Regions from separate parts of the Homo sapiens genome. Here region 2 is linked to region 1. The links are contacts of gene promoters, found by promoter capture Hi-C in human tissues and cell types (Jung and others, 2019). All regions are on one chromosome and are shown on one strand. The core of a region is centred on a gene start or on the middle of the fragment in contact, and the rest is flanking DNA. Distances in the headings are between cores, read along the strand shown. Region 1 holds the start of CCDC14 (coiled-coil domain containing 14). Region 2 has its middle 27 kb from the start of MYLK.

What was found. Contacts are between HindIII fragments. The study calls those that stand out against the background at their distance.
Region 2: a fragment that was not itself captured here is called in contact with the fragment with the promoter of CCDC14 in region 1 in 1 of the 25 tissues and cell types used here (thymus).

The regions. Positions count from the first base shown.
Region 1 is chr3:123,959,501-123,962,485 of GRCh38, forward strand. It overlaps CCDC14 (coiled-coil domain containing 14), which reads right to left and starts at 1,729. Exons shown (of 13, transcript NM_001366335.1): 1 at 1,644-1,729. The coding sequence starts at 1,673. RefSeq lists a silencer at 1,737-2,047. The HindIII fragment of the contact is 4,558 bases long and covers 1,007-2,985 here.
Region 2 is chr3:123,909,829-123,912,944 of GRCh38, forward strand. It overlaps a transcript of CCDC14 not described here. Among named protein-coding and RNA genes, the nearest start is that of MYLK, 27 kb to the left of the region's middle. The HindIII fragment of the contact is 6,426 bases long and covers 1-3,116 here.

The sequences.
Region 1 (2,985 bases), core at 479-2,978:
TAGAAATTCCTTATATGTATTTTGGATATTATTTATCAGATACATGGCTTGGAAATATTTTCTCCCATTCTGTAGATTGCCTTTTCACTCCATTAATCATTTCCTGTGCTGTGCAGAAGCTTTTTAGTTTGATGTGTCCATGCTCTTCTTATATTACCCCTGCTCAGCCCTGGAGTTGGTCATTTCTCCAAGAAGCCATGACTCCTTAGTGGACAGTGGTACGTGGAAACCAAGATCTAGGTACTAGATGTGTTCTTTGCTATTGGGGCCTCCAATCTTTTTTCATATGCATTTTTTACTTAGTCATAATACCTAGATATTTGCAATTTTAAATCCTGTGTTTTCTACTTTTAAATCTTTTTCATATTCATAAATTTTTAATGGTTGTATAATATTTCCTTCAGTGGAAGTAATATAATAATGGTCTTGGTTTGCTTCATATTTTTCACAATTAAAAAAACAAACCTGGAATAAGCCTTTCTATCTACTGAAAACAGCCTTTTTATATTTAGGATTAAAAAGAAAATTATTTGGTGAAAGGTTATTAGCAATTTAATAACCCTTGATACAAACTGCAAAGCTGCTCTCCAAAAGGAGTGTCCTAATCACAATACAGGAGAATCAGTTTGCTTTATTTTACACTTACTTCTACGAGGTTATTATCATTAAACTTTTAATTTTGCTATTTGAGAATCATATAAGCATTTCTTAGTAGTCATATCTCCTACCAACAAGTACAAGATAATACTGCCTTTGTAGAATGACTTACAGTGTGCTAAGGTCTTTCATTTTCACTTAATCCATACCCTGTGAGTTATTATTTGTGAGGTGGGAACCTAAATTTCAGAAAAGTGGTTTGTTCAAAGTCATACATCTACTAGGTAAAATGTTTAAAAGAAGAATGGACTCTGGCATCAGTTTTGTGAGTCTGAATCTTGTTTCCACAGCTGTGTAACTGCCAAGTTATTTGAATCCTCCAGCCCTCGATTTCCTCATATATAAAATAGGGATAATAGTACTTACCTCATAAGGATATCGTGACTATTAAATGAGTTATTCTATGTAATACATAAAAGCACTTACAGTAGCATCTGCCACATAAGTCCTATCTAAATGTTGGCTGCTGTTATCATTAAGATGGTGGCAAACTACGTGTTTTAAAGGGAACTAAATTTTGTTGTATGTCTACAACAACTGTGTGATCGATGTTTTTACCGGGTTCTCTTATTTAACCTTCTCAATTCTTTGAGACAGGATTTTATGCTTATTTCTGCCTATTTTGCAGCTAAGGAATAGGAAGTTCTGAGCAGTAAAAAGTAGTAGACTCTCAATCTGCAGGTGACTGAAGCTAGGAGAGGTTAAGTCACTCGACGCAGCGGCGAAGGCTGGGACTCGAACCCGGGCCTGACCCCAAAGCCGGCGCTCTAGACTAGGGCTACGACGATTTAAACAGAAACATCTAGAGACCGAGCGGCCGTGTTACGACGGGAAGATTAGGTGTTCCCTGCACCTCTGTCCCAGCACTTTAATGTCGCCGCATTGTCTTTGTCTTTTTTCGAGCAGAGTTTTACAAGTTCCTGGCCCGAAAACCCCCCTGTCCCTCTCCATCCCCACAGCGGACTCCTCAGGTCCTCAGCCCTCACCTGGCCCGGTCGAGCTCCAGACCTGACCATCTCTCGCCGCCTCAGAGAAGCCCAGACCGAGGGAAGTGAAGCCTCACGGTAAAAAGAATTAACCGCCGTGGGCTCCCGGACCTTCTTGGCCCGCCCGCCGAGCTTCCGCTTCCGGAAAGGATCCCGCCGAATGCCGCGCTTCATAGTCTCCGACGCGCCTCCACTCCCTTTCTCCTGCTCCAGGCCCAGCGCCTTGGGCGTACGCAATAGACCCCTCCAAGCTTCCCGGCTTGTCACCCACCGGCAGGGGTTGGGAGAAGCCAATAAACGGCGAACGGGGCGGGGCCAAGGCATGGCTGGGGCGGGGCCGGGGCGGAGCCGCCGAGAAAAGAGTTAAGCGGAGGTTCCAGGACTTGCGGTGGGGAAAACGGGGACGAGGACCCGCCAGCGCCAGAGGATGGGACAGGGGTAGGAGGCGAATAGGTTTCAGAAGGAATTGAGCGCGACTTTTTGGGTTTTCGCTCTTTATTTTTAGTTTGGCATCGTGTGCCTTTTGGAAGATTTTGTTCTTGATATTCTATAAAAATAAGACCTCGGGGTTGTTACCTTTGCGTGTGATGGAAATTGCAGAATTATTCCCTGTGGCCACTGATCTCAGAACGGTGTTCATTAGTTGGGATTTTGGGTTTACTTCCATGCGTACTTGTCTCCTCTTATGTTGAGGTAATTACTTTTGATGAAAAATGACACAACATTCTTAGTATTGGCATGTGCACTCATTTTAATGAGGATTTTAGTCATTGGTTTTTAAGGCATTGAGTTTTGGGTTAATGATTTAAATCAAGTTGAAGAGAGATAACTCAGTTTATTCCATTTCAACTGTCACCCAGGCAGGAGTGCAGTGGCGCAATCTCAGCTCACTGCAACCTCTGCCTCCTGGGTTCCAGCGATTCTCCTGCCTCAGCCTCCTGAAGAGCTGGGATTACAGGTGCGTGCCACCACACGCGGCTAATTTTTGTATTTTTAGTAGAGACAGGGTTTCACCCTGTTGGCCAGGCTGGTCTCACACTCCTGACCTCAGGTGATCCGCCCGCCTTGGCCTCCAAAGTGCTGGAATTACAGTGGTGAGCCACCATGCCCGGCCTCATTTCTTTTTAATGGAGAAAAGAGCTACGCTTTAAAAGTCTGTTACAATTAATGTCAAAGCCCAGGAACTAAAATATGTCCACCAAAATATCACACACTTATCCTGAGTGATTTTAGGAAATGAGTATTTCACAGATTTAGTTTTGAATTAGATCAAACTGTGAAAACCTCTCCTTTCCTTCCCCAGCCCTCACATAACTTCATAACTTGCTGACATATTCACCTG
Region 2 (3,116 bases), core at 157-2,656, 50 kb before region 1:
GTGGTCATGAGACTGAGCTGTCATCAGGAAGACAACATAATGAAGAAAGGCAACTGAGAATCACAACATCTGGTTAAGGTGTTAGGTGTGCGGCCTTAAGCAAGTATCTTTAAATATGTCTGATTTCAGTTTCCACATGATAATTTTCATATTTCATTATTCATGGCCTCTAAAAGCAGACCTGGCTTCAAGGAGAACAAGCACTGAGAGTTTGTGGTAAACTTGAGCTCTTCCTTTAGAAGCAGCTGAGACCACTTATCTAGTTAGAACCTTAGTCTTCGAGGAAATGCTCATGTCTAGCTAGATGAAAATGGCCACCCATGACTTCCTGCCCCAGCTGCCCTAACATGGTGCCACTCAACACCAAGAATGACAATGTGAATATTATTGGGAAACTAACTACAGCCCTAATATGATCTGCAGCGTGATGGCTAAGATAGCCAACTCAACCTTTGTCCATTTTAAAACTACTATAAGATTATAGAAAATGACAATCTAATGGTCGTCCGCCTGGATCAGATCACATCTGAAGTTCATTGCTGGATTTACATTTTAAGGGACTCACTGACAAACCGGTGGACATCAGAAGAGGGCAAGCAAGATGGTGAGGACTCTTTAAATATTGTCATAAGTCACAGACTGTACAGTGCCCTGCAGTTTTCCAGTGCTTTGCTTACGTTCATCCCTCCCAAAAACTGGTGAGGCAGGCTGGTGGGATAGATTACTCTGCATTAGTGTCATGGTTAAAAAAAAAGTTTCTGTCCTAAATATTTAAGAATCTGTGGCTTCTCCACAGCACAAGCAGAAGTGTGCAAATGTTTGCCAGTAAGTGAATTTGGTTTCAGAAGTCAGTAACTGAATGAAGAATAAAAGGCACAGGGAGGCTAATGCTAGGAACTTAGATGTGTGTAATAAAACTATTAACAAGCTGTTTCATGAACTTAACACCAACAGAAAATCAAGTTATGCCTAGGTGATCATCTGCAGAGATTTAGTTAGGTCCAACAATAGTTATTAAGTACAAACTATATGATAGTCACCAAGGGTCATGAGGGCAGTTGAAAATGAATCAATCCTGGTCCCTATCCTCAAGAAGAGTAGAGGGTAGGAAAGACAGATACGTAAACTGATAAAGACATCACTAGAAATATCTGCAAGGTACAGAAGTAGTACTGTGGATTTCAAGAATAAATAAAAATTTGTCAGGAGGAGCTTGGGCAAAAGGCCGTCCAGGTAAAAGGAATACCCCTGGTGTGCTTGGAATCTTCCAGTAGTAGGTATCCAGTAGTATCACTGTAGAACAGTTCTTTTCTTTGGGTATAACAGTGAGATTATTTCTATAGTCCTTTCAAAAAGTTAACTTTTAAACCCTTCAGAAGTCTAAGATCTTATCATCTCTGGTAATTCTATGGGAGGGTTAGCTCAAGACAACAGCTTTAAATAAAATAGTGCCCGGTTCTCTACAAGTGGTAATATTAATACATCCAGAAAAGTTAAGGGGCTTTGAATTGTGTGTGTTAAGGTATGCTATAGTCTTAGAACCCACATGTTTAAGCAATTCGGAGCAAAAGGAAATCTAGAACTAACATTGGAAAAATGATTAAGGGAGTGTTAACTTACAAATCAAACCCAACTTTCCCTAGTGGTTGCTTAAATTCTGGACCCTTAAACATTATTTTTGAGAAGGGGCCTGTTATCCTAGTAATTAAAACTTAAGCCAACGTTATCACTCTTTTTTCCCTTACCCTGCTTTATTTTTCTTCACAGAACTGACTATATGTTCCTTTGCTTGTGTCCCACTGTATCATAAGCTCTTTAAGGACAGAATGTCTGTCCTGTTTATTGCTGTCTTCTCAGAGCCTATAATAGTAACTGGCACATATTAGAGCTTTCATTTCATTCACTGAGTGAATGAATCTTTAGCTGAGGGAATGTGAGCACTAGTTACCTACCTGGTCAGCTGTGATGAAGCTGCATGCCCTTTTTACCTAAGCAGGTTTTACAATGCTGCCCTACTTTCCATGTAGTTGGAGCAGGCCTTTATCACTTTTAAGGCACTTGACAAGTAAAATGCCACCATCAGTGAAAATAAAGGTTTCTGAAAGATTTACTAAACTCCAGGGGTGGTGGGAATAAGGGAAGAACATGTGGTAAGTACTTCTTTGGTTCTTTAGCCCTGCCCCTAGGATCTCTACACTTGGTCCAATATCATCAGATTCTACCTTTTATCTTCAATGGTGTTCACAACTACTAAATTCATTGTAAAGGGTTGTATATTACCTCCACAGATCAAAGACCGTAAAATAGTGACAAAATGCTAGAGGATGGTTCTCACTCCATGCTCAATACTTATCTGGAGACACGAATTTCAGTGTGTCAGAGGTTAGGGATACTCTGGACATCTACTAATACGCTTTTTGCACTCTGGGACATCTGAAAGGGCTGAGAGGGCTGGGATCTGGGACCAGCCTGACCCTTCTGAGACTACGATGAGGCAGTAATGCTGACTCCTGCTGAGATGATCTAAAGACGACGACTGAGAATGGACTCTCCTCGCCTTTTTATTCTAATGAAGACAACTTCGAACTTAACTAAGAACTTGACTTTTCATTTTAGACATCGCTCAGTGTGTCTCAAACTGATTAAACTGAAAACCTTGGAGTCATCTTTGATTTTTCTATCCTCTGTAGTTCCTATTTGGTCACCCAGCTGACTGAAAAATTTTCGTCAATTTGCCTCTCCTTTTTCACTTTTATTGCCAAAGGATTATGTCTGAACTACTGCAACAGCTTTCTAAATGGTCTCCAGTCTCTCCCTCCTCTAATCCTTCCTATTTACTATCACTCTATGACATTTTAAGAATACCCAACTTCGCCTGGTAATCCTCAACTGAAAAAAAACAAAAAAACAAAAAACACCACCACCAGATCCCCAAATACTCCAATGACTTAATGTTTAATGGATACTCCTCAGCCTGGAGCTCAAGACATTCCACAACTGACCCAAATCTTCTAATTGTGTTTTCTTCATTTATTATTACCACCCCCTCCCCACCTCTATTTCAGTCAGGTTGGTCTACCACGGTACATCCTAATATACCAAATTCAACCAATCTC